4 separate regions of the Homo sapiens genome follow, and regions 2, 3 and 4 are each linked to region 1. Evidence: promoter capture Hi-C in 16 types of primary human blood cells and fetal thymus (Javierre and others, 2016). All regions are on one chromosome and are shown on one strand. Each heading gives the region's core, a stretch centred on a gene start or on the middle of the fragment in contact. The rest is flanking DNA. Distances are from core to core; before and after follow the strand shown. Region 1 holds the start of TMEM215 (transmembrane protein 215). Region 2 overlaps ACO1 (aconitase 1). Region 3 overlaps LOC107987059 (a long non-coding RNA gene). Region 4 has its middle 9.9 kb from the start of ACO1.

Region 1 (3,102 bases), core at 100-2,599:
GACGATGGTCTCGTGGTCCCACCTGCCTTGTATCTGATTGATATAACAACAGTATCTGTCATACGGGCTGTTCTGCTTGTAGGAGCAAACGATGATACTGTCCTGGGGCACAAAGAAGATGCTATCCTCAGGCTCAGGGCACTCAGATCTGTCCCTTGCTGAGCACTTGACGTCCAAGGCACTGTAGGTGAGGGAACTGCCCGAGGGGCAGTAGCCGTCCAGGTATCTGGACGTCTCCTCCTGATGCCCATTCTGGACGAGGCTCTGGCATTCTCCTTCCTCCGTGGGTGTGGGGCTGTTGATGGAGCTGGCCACGGACACCTCACCCTGGCTTTGTGGGGGAGGCTTCCCCCTGAGGCCCGCCTTCTTAGCCAGCTCATCTGAGCTCCCCTTGCCGGATTCTAGGTCTGAAGGGGTCCTCAGCAGCTCTACCACCTCCTTGTCTTTGGGTTTCCGGAAGCAGGGCAATTTGCGGACCCACAGCAGCTCGTTCTCTGGCCACTTGGTGCATCCCTCGGTTTTCCTGGCCAGGGCAATGGCTGCGATGCCTGGTAGGCAGATGGCTGGCCCGATGGCCAGGAGGGGGATGTTTCCCAAAGTCTCCCCTTTCATCCCAGAGACGGTGAACATGAAACCAAAGACGAGGAAGACACTGACCAGGGCCACCACCAGCCCAGTCCTCGGGTTAATGTCATCAGGCCGCATGTTTCACTCCATCCAGGTTGGGGGCTGCTTGCTGACCAGGGAGCAGCGTTCCTCTATTCTGTCAGAGATGAAACCACAGTGCGTTAAAAAAAAATCCAAGTCAAGCTCCCACCCATCAACTCTTGTCTTTCTCTTGCCCTTTGTCTCCGACTTGCTTCTTGACTTTCAGTCTTGATCTCTGTCTCTGTATCTCTCTTGCAATCTCTCTATCTCTCTCTCTGCGTTTCTCTTGCAATCTCTCCCTGTTTCTATTTCTACTCTTTCTCTCCGTCCCCTCTCCCTCCCTCCCTTTCTTGTGCCCTCCCTCTCTTCCTCTCACTATTGCAACCTCCGTCTCTCTCTCATATCAACACGCTCCGGCTGGGGTCAACGAGGTACCTGAGGTTTCCTGCCCTCTCCAGGAAGTAGGGAAAGAAGCCAGGCTGTCTCCTCAGAAGCCCCCACAGCAGCTGCCCCCTCGGCTCGCTCCCTTGGTTCTGGGAGGAAAGCCTGGTTTCCCCCACGGACTCTGCATCGGGGAGGTGGAACCTGGGAGAGCGGCTCTCCCAGCAGTGCCCGTCGGTCCCGGTGCTGTGCAAGCGGAGCCCGGCGCCAGCTCAGCGCGCAGAGCGCGGGGCGCGGGAGGAGGAGGGAGCACTGAGTCTGGGAAAGAGGGGACGCGGCGCGAGCCTGGCCTTGTTACATCACTGTCAGAGCAGGCTCAGAAACGCAGACAGACGCGCGGGGGCGCGAGGGGGTCAGCCCCAGAGGGAGGCCACCCGGCGGCAGGCGCTGCCCGGGGTCTCGTCGGGGCTGCTGGGAGCGGCCGGGGTTTGTGCCGCCGCCGTTCCGGAGGCTGAGCAGGGCGACCTGACCCGCTTCCGTGCCCGGGAAGGGTCTGGGGCGCGAGGCTGCCAGTGGCCGGAGTCGGAAACCAGGGTCGGTTTGCCCACGGGGCAGCCGTTGCAATATCCGAGCTCGGGCTCCCAGTCCGGGATCCGAGGAGTTAGGTGCCAGCTGGAGATGTCCCTCCGGGACCCGCACCCTTCTCCAGTTACAAATCCGGGTGACTGACGGCAGGCCCAGGGGCTCCCCGACCGCCCTTCTCTCAACCCCTCGACTCGGGGCGCGGGGGGGTGTGTGTCCCTCGGGGAGCCGGTGCCCGAGGACTGCTTTGGTCCCGGCTCTGGGCGGTGGCGGCGCGCGAAAGCGCTCTTGCAGCGGAGCGACTGCGCCGCGGGAGCGCACAGAACCAGCGCCCAGGCGGAGTGGGTTAGTGGTGAGGGGTGGGTGCCAGGCTAGTCCGGGCCTTGGGGGAGTCCCCGGAGTCCCCGTGGCTTTCCAGCTCCAGGCTCGGGAGAGGGTGACCTTGGAGCCGGGATTTCACTTCTACAGCGCTGTGGTGCCGGGGGGACAGGGAGAAGGGCTCCCTGGCCCCCAGTTCACGAGGAGAAGGGGCCTTGACCGGTCAGGACCACCACCCTACGACGCCGCTCAGCTCTGGGCGATTCTCTCCTCCCTTGCTGAAGCAGGCATTGAGAGCCTGCGTTCCTCCCGCTCTGGTAGGCAGGGGCAGATGGATTCCTCTGGCCCCGGGGGGCAAGACTGGCTTTGGCTGTGATTCTTCAACAGGGCTGCCCATTTAGGATAGAGGAGGGCGGTGGAGAACAGGTTGATGAGCGGTACATGCTTTCATGTCAAGACACTGATTTACTGGAAAGAATTTTCACATCCAGGCCTTCCCCAGTTAAACTAGCTGTATATTCCTGGGCAAGTGACTTAACCTCTCTGAGAATCAGTCGTCCTATCTGTAAAATGAGATTAATACCAAATATATGAGGAAACATTGTGAGGATTAAATAAACGTAAAGTTCCTAGCACAATGCTTGGTACATAGTCTGTGTACAAAAATTACACACACATGCACACACGTACACATGTATATGTATATATATTTGTCATCATAATTAGTGTCTTCATCATGTATGACAGGAGCCAAACAAATCATAAAGGCTGTGAGACTAAGGACTTTTTATCCACTAGGCAATGAAGAACGCTTGATGTATTTTAAGCAAAGATCAATACAAAAACATTCCAGTTTGACTGAAAGGGGCGGCAGGTGAGAGCATAGGTTGGAGCTGGTAAGTCTGGAAGCCGGGAGTCTTGTTCAGTAAGCTGAGAAGTTCAGTAAGCCGGGCAAGACATGATGTGGCCTTAACAATGTCGGGCTGGTAGAGGAGTTGGAAGGAAGCAGATCTGAGGGTATTTAAGGGTTGAGTGAAGTGTCTTGGAGCACAGTGAAGTGAGATGAAGGGAGGAGCCAAGGTCAACTCCCAACTTTCTCACTTTCAAAGGGGTGGATCAGGAAGCAGATCCTTCTCATTTTCCTCTCCATCATCTATTTTGTATCTTTTGTAC
Region 2 (3,316 bases), core at 648-3,147, 350 kb after region 1:
CCTCCTGGGATTCACATCCTTAGTTGACCCCCTCCTGTTGAGTGTGGGCTGAAGCTAGTGACTATCTCCTAGATTAGATTATTGAGACCTGCCTTCTGACTCTCTTGCTCTCTTGCTCTGATGGAAGCCAGCTACCATGTGTGAGTCATGAAGAGACCCTCATAGCAAGGTGCTGAGGGAGGCTTCTAGCGAACAGCCAGTGAGAAACGGAGGACCTCAGTGCAACAGCCCTTGAGGAACTTGATCCTGCCAATAGCCACATGAGTGAGCCTAAGTGGACCCTCCTCCAGAGACTGCAGCCCCAGATGACATCTTACTGGAACCCTGTGAAAGTACACAGTGAAGCTGTGCCTGGATTCTTGACCCACAGAAAATGGGAGACAATATATGTTTGTTGTTTCAACTCACTATATCTATTGCTATATCACAGCAATAGATAACTAATGCATATGCTTATCAATAACTTATGAAATAATAATCCAGATTGTACCAAAGGGGAAATTACTCTCTGAGTGTTTTGGGAAGTGGCCTTCCAGGTCACACAAACACTGGGTAGCAAATGACAGCTGCTATGCATTAAAATTGGTTTGAATTCTGTCCACAGGTCCATTAACTCGGCCTTTGGAGGAAGGCATTTAACATAATGCCTGCCAAGCTCCCTAACACCATCTCCCAAGGAGCACCTTGTGAAGAGTGCAGCGTGTGAACATCACACCTACATCACCCCTTCCCCTAGACAGTTCTACCCTCATTTAAACCATCAGCCGCAGTCAGAAGCCCTTGGGTCAGCTGAATGCAGAAGGCGGGGAAAGGAATAATATCCAAGAGTCTCAGAATATAATGCTGAGCCCCACACATTTCCTCCTATTTGTAAAATGCACGGAAAGTTTTATTTCAGTAGTTTGGCACTTCCTACTGAGTGGCCTTAATTTCTTTATTTTTAAGTGTGCAAAAATGCATTCTGAGAGGTGCATTCGACCAATGGACTCCACTTAGTGACACAATATAGTGACCACCAGGGGTCCTCGCCACAGCTGACACACACCCCTGGGTGTCCGAGAAAGGCGTGGGGTTTTGGAGAGCTGAACCTGAGGAGGCCTTTCTTCTCTAGGCTGTCACCAACTTGTCCAAATCTGGGAACATCTGGGGGAGGTGGGGTTTGTAAAAATGCGAGTCACAGGAGAAAAATGACGGAGAACCACCTCCCCAGTCATCTGAAGAAATAAATGTTACTTTATATAGTTTATACTTCCGTTAGCCTTGAGGTCTGCAGACAGGACACAAAGGGAGCAGCTTTCCCTTAGATCCTCTGGGGCGGGGAGGGCAGTGTGGGACCTCACCTCTATTTTCTGATAGACTTCCTTAAACATCCCCGGGATGACATACTGACGCTCCACTGCCTGGATCTCGTCTCTAGTCGGCCAGATATCTTTCAGAAATACCTGCTGTCCCTTTGCATTTACTCCTGGGGAAAAAATGTTTATTAATGAGAAAACTTTCTAATATGCAATTTTCATGATTATACAGAGTCAAGCCTCGTTCTCCTCGGTAGTTATGTTCTATAAAGCCCGTGTGAACACTGAATGACTGGATACGGAATCACTGCCACTGGAGGAAATACAGGGTTAGGTTCCTGCAAGCCTCTGGTCACCCATCAATACATAACCTTGCTTCATGTGAGGTTTATTATTCACCTTATTTAATAGCAATTGTTGACTCACTGACATTGAACTTCCAGCGAAGCCTATCTAAACACAGTACGCATCACAGTCGGCTTGTGCTCAAGAACACCAGAAGCACTTCAGGACTATGCTCAAGGACCATTTTGAACAGCAAAATCACCACAAAAAGCACAAAAATGCAAAAAGCATGGCACTACGTAGACCAAGAAAAGGATCCTTATATATCGCAGGAGAGCTGAAACAAGAAGTCAGAGTGACGCCTTATCAGATCTCAGCATAGAACGTGTGTGTTGAATGATATAAAGTTTTCACCCCTTTGTGCTGATCTGTGAATGACCGTGAACATACTACAAATACTGATTTGGGGGTTAAAATACATTTTAGTGACTACGCAAATCTGCAAACATAGAACTCACAAATAACGAGGATCAACTGTACGTCTAAAGTTATGATTTCCTAAAAGTAAATTTCAGAGGCATTGTTTTCATATTATCTATTCGGCTTAGAATAGATTGAGGCAGGCAGAGCAAGCAAGCTGATCTGGGGAAAGGAAATGATGTATCATTTCTTTGGAATTCTGAGAAGTTGAAATATCTGCAGTATGTTTCTACAGAGTATATATTGAAACAATGCCTATCATTAAAGTGAGAGCTAGAAAGGGAGGAACTACAGAAGAAACCAGAATAGCAAGATGTCTATTCCTTTTGGCACCTGTTTTCCTTTCGTTATCCTTTACCCTCAGTAGATTCTTGTTTTAACTACTGCAGTTAAGTCTTAGCTGTATATTGGGGAATAAAGAAATTATTCTCTTCTTTGTCTTATCCCTGGAGGCTCTATGCTTCATTTCTTATTAAGGAAAGCAGTTTCTTCTAGTAATATTTCTGAATTCACTGGAAAAAAATTATGGCTGCACAAACAAAATCTTACCCAATGGCTCTTTCTCAAAGTCGATTCTGATGGTTCCAGCAATTGCATATGCTATTACTAAGGGGGGAGAGGCTAAATAGTTGGCCCGGGTGTTGGGGTGAACTCGACCTTCAAAATTCCTGTTTCCAGATAGTACTCCAACAGCTACAAGGTCTCCCTGAGTAAGGCAAGAGAAAAATCAGGTCACTAAAAGATACTGACTAGGCTTCTTGTCTCAGACCATTGGCAAGAGTTTCCACATCGCAAGGATACAGTCCTTTAAGCTGCCCTTTCACTTGGTTCTCTCCCACTAGAGGGGAGAAGGGTACACTGGGGTGTCCCCATGGGAGATACTCTGGGTCAAAGGAAGCAGAGACATGTTTAGTGATTTCTGCTCACGAGAAAATATCAGGTAGTTAGAAGGCAACATACTAGTTATTGCTGCCTGGGGCCCAAGAACAGGTGGGAAAGACCTAACAGTTGATCGTTAAAGGAAGTCACAATGCACAATTATAGAATACGTAGATTCTATAATTAATGCAAAGCAAACCAAATAATATCTTTCAAGGTTCAGCATTTTGGGGATAAAAATCAAGCCAAAGCAATTTAGTTTAGATTCGTTTGTGTGGAGACTTGTCTCACTTTGAACCAATTTTCAAATTATTTGGGTTGGTGCAAAAGTAATTGTGGTCTTCATCACTGAAATGGCAAAAATCACAGTTACTTTT
Region 3 (3,046 bases), core at 249-2,748, 460 kb after region 1:
CCTGTTCTGCATTCCTGCTCCCTCAGGTTCCATTCTCAAATAAGTCATCACCATGTGAGCCTTTGTCTCAGGCTCTGCTTTTGAGGAACCCAGGCTAAAATAGGAAGCATCAATAAATGTTAGTTTTTATGAACATTATTGCTGATCTTGTAAATGCCCCTCATCTAGAATATTGCTGCAGGAAATTCAATCACCTACCAGCTGTTTCTAGGGCTTCCTAGAAATCCTTATTCCATCCTTGCAGGTGCACAGCTTTTGTTGCTTCTGCCCTTCCTCTCGCCCTCTCTATATCCCTTCCCTATGCTACTCCGGCCTTCCTGGTCTGCTTCTCCTAGAGCTATGAATACGCAGGCTTCCCCCAACCTACCCCTTTCTTTTCCCAGGCATGCTTAGTCCAGCGCTTCGTGGGCAACAGAGATGCATATGGAAAACCCATGGGGACACGCTTGCTTCACCAAATAAGGGTATTTCCCTTTTCCTTGGAAAAAAGAATGAACAAATGATGGTTGTTAAGTAAACATTACTAAAATCTGTGCCCTTTCCCAGAAGTATATCGTGCATATTTATTTTAATAAGGCAAGAGAACAAATAACAGTTTCTAGAGGCAAGGGAAACAGCTGATTTACTGTCCTCCTTTTAGAACATAGCTCAAGAGACTGGGTTTTGTTTTTGTTTTTGCATAAGTAATCTTAGATCCATCCTCTATATTTCTACTGCTCCCCCTGGGCCTTTGTTATGACTTCATCATTTCCTGACTGGCTGACTGGTACTGTGTTATAACCACCCTTTCCCTCCACACTTCCATCAGAGTTGCCCTCTTATAACTCACATGTGATTATTGCACTCTACTGCTTAGAACCTGTCAATGGGTCCCACTGTCCAGATTACAGTGTCTATATTTCCCTTATAATCAGCCCTGCCTATTTCTCAGAGTATCTTTCTCCACTAATTTTTCCTCACAGTGCACCTAAGCCAGCAGTTCTCAGCTTCAACATCACCTGCCAACTTTTTAGAAAATCAGATTTGTGGGCCCACTTCAGACCTATTCAATATGAAACTCTGGGGATGAGGCCCAGTAATCTGTGCTTTAATAAACTCTCCAAGTGACTTTGATGCATGCTAAATTTGAGAGCCACTCACCAAAGTGAAGCAGGTGCAGTGTATGCAGTTTGAATTGCCCTTAATCCCCTAATGCACCTAGAATTTCCTACTCATCCTTCAAAAGTCATCACCTCTTTCATGAAGCCTTCTCTGCCTTCATCTAACAGTGTTTACCATTCCCTGCTTGGTATCTCCAGGACACTTCCATTGTGAAGTGTAAAACACTGTTTTGCAATTCTTGCAAACTTACTTGTCCATCTCCCTGACTAGACTATGAGATGCTCATGGGAAATACTCTCTAAAAGCTTGTTTTAACTTTCTCTTTCCTGTTGGTCTCTCTCTGTCTTCATGCACACATGTATACGGCTTCCATAAAGAAGACTGCAGAATAGAATAGGGAACCACTGTTTAAAGTTCATTGCCCTTTCCACCAATTGGGATCTCATTCTGGCTGCCTTTTTTCCCTTTATATCTTATTCAATAAGCTTTTATTTAATTTTAACTTTTTTGTTAGTTTTTAAACTTTAAACTTTTTTATTTCTAATTTTTATGGGTACATAGTAGATGTATATACTTATGGGGTACATGAGCTAGTTTGATACGGGCACAAAATGTGTAATAATCACACCAGGGTAAATGAAGTATTCATTATGTCAAGAATTTATTTCTTTGTGTTACAAACAATCCAGTTATATGCTTAGTTATTTTAAAATGTACAATAAATTATTGTTGATTGTAGTCATCCTGTTGTGCTGTGAAATACTAGATCTTATTCATTCTATCTAACTACATTTTTGTACCCATTAACCATCCTCACTGTCCCCCTACCCTCTACCAGCTACCCTCCCAGCCTCTGGTAACCATCATTCTGCTCTCTACCTCCATGAATTCAACTGTTTTAATTTTTAGCTCCCACAAATGAGTGAGAACATGCGAAGTTTGTCTTTCTGTCCTGGCTGCCTCTTTTTGTCTGTCATCACAAGGTGTGTAACTGACTTTGCCCCAGGTATTAAGAAACAGATACAGTCACCTCTCAAAAAAGGGGGCCAGTTATCAGAAACAGGTCAGTTCCTGGCACTATCGATGAGTAATTCTGTTTGCTTTATGACCCTGACTCTCCTTTAAAAATGAATCAGTTGAAGCTGTAGTTGATTATGCTTTCTTTTCGGTCTTAGACCTACAAAGACTTTTTACTGACTTAGTAAATAAAAGCTAAGCCACTTAAAGAAACCTTGAAGTTGTCTGTTTAGGGGCATTAGTCTGTGTTATCATCTAGGGACAAACCTGTGACTCTCTTCTCTCTGTGTTATAAGAGTTGGTTTTGGGCTAGAGAGAACTCCGTTGTGAACTCAGAAGACGAGGTGGGGGTCCCGGGAGAGTCAGGGCAGGTAAGGGAGAGACGACCCTGATTTTATCCTCCTCTAATAGTGACTCCATAGCTATACAGATATTGGATAGTGCCCTTCAGTGTTGATAACTGGGAGGGAGATTTGCTGACTCTATCTGGAAAGAGAGCAGTTGGGAAGATGTCCTGATTGGCTAGTAGGCCAAGTTCTATAATATTTCCTTTATCTAGATATCCCCAGTGGCTAGGACAGTGCCTACTATGCCGTCAATTCTAAATACATTGTGGTTGAGCTTTTACAATTATAAATTCCAGGGTTTGTGGGCACTATACTACATAAAATCATTTACCTTTTTCTTGCAGCTTGAATTGGGCCATACACTTTTTTGAAAAGTCTTAATTTAAAAAGATAGAAGCAAGCAGCCCACAGCTGCATTGGTTTTTCTCTAGGTTAGAAGCTTTCCTATAAACCATTTGATGAAGTAGCAGATGGCAAAGTTAGAACCTTTGTAGCTCTAAGACTTAATAGAAGCCATGATCAACTATGGATTGTCTTGTAACCCAAATTGATGCTTTTGTTGCACTCTGATGGACTTGTCA
Region 4 (3,309 bases), core at 325-2,824, 410 kb after region 1:
CCCCTGTACCCCAGCCTCAACTGCTTTAAGGAAAATGCTGAGTATGCGGGGGAACTGAAAGGAGGGGAGGAACTCAAATATTTTTAGCTCTGTTGAATATAGGTGCCCAAGTCATAATCCTTCCCAGTCTCATGAATGGAGAGGGTGCTGGGCACAAGGATATCTAAAGGTACTGAGGATTGTAGGGTGCAAGGGAATTTACCCTGAGCCTGGTTGGGAGAGACAAAGGATAAGAAAAGCCATCTTCTCCCCTCATCTGCATCCCCCTTCCAGCAGCTATTGTTACAGTCCTGTTATGCCTGTTAGACTTCTTGGTCCATATTTCTATAGGGCAGTGTTTTTCAACCAGGGTCATTTTGTCCTCTCCTCCCACCCAGGGGACATGTGACAATGTCTGGAGACTTTTTTTTTTTTTTTTTTTGAGACAGAGTTTCATTCTTGTCGCCCAGGCTGGAGTGCAATGGCACGATCTTGGCACACTGCAACCTCCACCTCCTGGGTTCAAGTGATTCTCCTGCCTCAGCCTCCCAAGTAGCTGGGATTATAGGCACCAGCCACCATGCCCAGCTAATTTTTGTTATATAATTATTATTATTTTTTTAGTAGAGATGGGGTTTCTCCATGTCGGCCAGGCTGTTCTCGAACTCCTGACCTCAGGTAATCTGCCTGCCTTGGCCTCCCAAAGTGTTGGGATTACAGGCGTGAGCCACTGTGGTGGGCCTGGAGACATTTTTGATAGTCACAACTGAGCCGGGGGACGATGTGGGGGGTGTTCTACTGGCATCTAGTTGGTAAAGCAGGGATACTGCTAAGTTTCCTACAGTGCTTGGGAACCCCCAGACAAAGAATTAACCACTCCTAAATGTCAAGAATGAACCTCTGCCATGGGGGAAAATGTGCTCCAAATTCAACTGATGGGGTTTGGGCAACATTTTTTCCATGTGGGAGGAAAATTAACGTGACCTTGTAGGACCTTTAGGGCCAATCCAACGTACTGTTTGCTGTGTCTTTCACTGATGAATGTATAATTGGTGTTCATGTTGTACGTGCTTGTGTTGTGAATCCTCATGAAGCCCAGAGGAATTCTTCTATTCAAGGACTGTGGCATGTGGAGGGGTAATCTCTGTCCCCTTCCCAGTAGTATAGCAAAGAGAATATAAAACCTGAGAAGAAATGGAAATTAAAGCTTTAAAGACTTAATGGCTGCAGTATTCAGGAGGCAATTTCCTAGTAACAACTGATGCAAGCACCAAGTACACCTCTTTTAAAAACAGGGGCTTCTGTTGTCCTGTTGCTGAGCTATTGACCTGTATAGACTTTGGGTCAAGAAGCTGAACTGCTGACCCATAGAAGCTTTGTGACTCTGCAGCCTGATGTCTCCATTTTGGAATGGGTTATCTTGGATTTGACAACCTATAAGGAAAAGGCCCGATATATCTCAGTTGTCAAATGGAAATTGTAATATTCAAGGATAGAGTTGGTCTGTCCCCAGTAGCATCTCAGTTTACATGAAAGAGTGGCAGCTATCATTTTAGGGAAAATATTTTCATTACACTGCTTGAAGTAAGGCCACCAGATCAATGAGGCCCTTGATTCACAGTGTTTCTTTCAATGCCTGGGCCTGGTTTACTGATGGTTTGGCTAAGTTGAAACCTGTTGGTGTCCATTAGGCTGCTACAGTAGTCAATTGCTGCTCTGTACATGGCACCCTGAAAACTGATATGCTTGTCCACTCAGTGGGAAGAATTTAAGACCATTCTCATAATTCTGCCCAATACTTCCCACAAAAGCTTATATTTTTACTAACTCTTGGGATATTGCCAATGATCCAGCCATTTGGTCTGCTATATGGCCTGTCACTTACAAGCCTATAGACTAACAGATTAAAGATACTTCTCTCTCAGGAAATGAACTGTGGAAATAAGCCATCGCTGATGATAAAATACCTAGGCCATTCATGTTAGATGATGTTTGTATTAAGAACCCATTCTCCAGTGAGACCTACAGAAATCAAGCTGTTGATCCAGCCTGAAATGTCCAGCTCATTTCTTCTACCACCTTAATCTATCACTGTATTAGACATGGCCACATATATATCATCATTGACTTGGCACAAGATAAAGGGTTATACACTTCTAATGTGGAAGCTACCAGTGTGTGTCAGACTTGAAACTCCTGTCAAGGATTGGCTGGCTGGTCTTGTGGTGAAGGAGGTTGCATTGCACAGGTATGAACTCTGTCCATTCCTGGTACACTGACAGTATCGGACCTTTGACCTCCTTCTGTATCTACTGGTGGTGTCTCACTGCTCTTGATACTTTTCCGCAGTCCAATCAGCCAACTCTGTCTGTACTCCTGTGGCTCTTGAGACTTGATTTTCTGGACCATTTGCAGCCTGACAATGGTACCACTTTTGTGACAAAGGTCACCCAATGATAAGCCCATAATCAAGAATTCAATTCCATGCTCCATCTGCAGGCATCTGATATTGTTATGTATTGACTCAACAATACTTCTCAAGATCCTTGACTTGACTCAAGTATTGACTCAACAATATCAGATGATATTGAATCTGAAATGGATTTCTCACAAATTGACTTAAAAAGATTTCAACTCTACTTTTCTCACCTCCTCCTGTAAAGAGTAGTAAGACAGTATGGTCACTAAATGTGGTTGTCTCCAGAACCATAATGGAGACAAGACGTGGCCAAGGGGTTATTTTCTGGATACTAATCAAAATGAAAGGACAAGGGTTTATATAGGCCTATTTTGAAAATCTGGAATTCTGTACTAACCATTCTTGGACACAATGGATCTTTCTTTACCCTAGAGCAACCCTAGACCAGTGGTTTGTACATCCTCCTACCTTTAGCAGTGTAGCCAAAAGGGATACTATGGAATTAAAATTGATTCTGATTCAGCCATCAGGATTCTCTTTTTGGATTAACACGGTCCAATATGAAGACAATAGTTACCTGGTTGAGTACACTGCTTGCTGGATTAGCCTATGGAAAATGCAGTGGCTTAAAAGAACACAAACTTATTATTTTACACTTCTGGAGGTCAGAAATCTGAAATGGGTTCCATTGGGCTAACATCAAGGTGTTGGTAAGGCTGCATTCCTTCTAGAGTCTCTAGAGGAGAATTTATTTGCCTTTTCTAGCTTCTAGACACCACATGCATTCCTTGGCTGTGGCCCCTTCCTCCATCTGCAAAGCAATGAACATGGCATCTTCACATCTCCGCCTCTGCTCTGTTGCCACTTCTCCTTTTCTGACTCTGATCCTCTTGCCTCTCTCTTATAAGAAC

What was found. The method cuts DNA at HindIII sites, captures the fragments that hold promoters and counts their contacts. A CHiCAGO score of 5 or more calls a contact.
Region 2: a contact is called between a fragment that was not itself captured here and the fragment with the promoter of TMEM215 in region 1, in 1 of 17 cell types (M2 macrophages). The highest score is 5.1, in M2 macrophages.
Region 3: a fragment that was not itself captured here is called in contact with the fragment with the promoter of TMEM215 in region 1 in 4 of 17 cell types (total CD8 T cells, endothelial precursors, total B cells and 1 more); the score reaches 6.1 in total CD8 T cells.
Region 4: a contact is called between a fragment that was not itself captured here and the fragment with the promoter of TMEM215 in region 1, in 1 of 17 cell types (M0 macrophages). The highest score is 5.1, in M0 macrophages.

What each region holds. Positions count from the first base shown.
Region 1 is chr9:32,781,787-32,784,888 of GRCh38, reverse strand. It overlaps TMEM215 (transmembrane protein 215), which reads right to left and starts at 1,349. Exons shown (of 2, transcript NM_212558.3): 1 at 1,084-1,349; 2 at 1-763. The coding sequence starts at 705. It overlaps LOC105376017 (a long non-coding RNA gene), which reads left to right and starts at 1,983. Exons shown (of 7, transcript XR_929559.2): 1 at 1,983-2,246. The HindIII fragment of the contact is 4,873 bases long and covers 1-3,102 here.
Region 2 is chr9:32,429,868-32,433,183 of GRCh38, reverse strand. ACO1 (aconitase 1) reads right to left here. Exons shown (of 21, transcript NM_002197.3): 14 at 2,610-2,766; 15 at 1,341-1,465. Among named protein-coding and RNA genes, the nearest start is that of ACO1, 47 kb to the right of the region's middle. The HindIII fragment of the contact is 9,294 bases long and covers 1-3,316 here.
Region 3 is chr9:32,320,166-32,323,211 of GRCh38, reverse strand. All of the region lies in intron 1 of LOC107987059 (a long non-coding RNA gene), which reads left to right. Among named protein-coding and RNA genes, the nearest start is that of ACO1, 63 kb to the left of the region's middle. The HindIII fragment of the contact is 180 bases long and covers 1,409-1,588 here.
Region 4 is chr9:32,373,083-32,376,391 of GRCh38, reverse strand. No RefSeq gene overlaps it. Among named protein-coding and RNA genes, the nearest start is that of ACO1, 9.9 kb to the left of the region's middle. The HindIII fragment of the contact is 437 bases long and covers 1,356-1,792 here.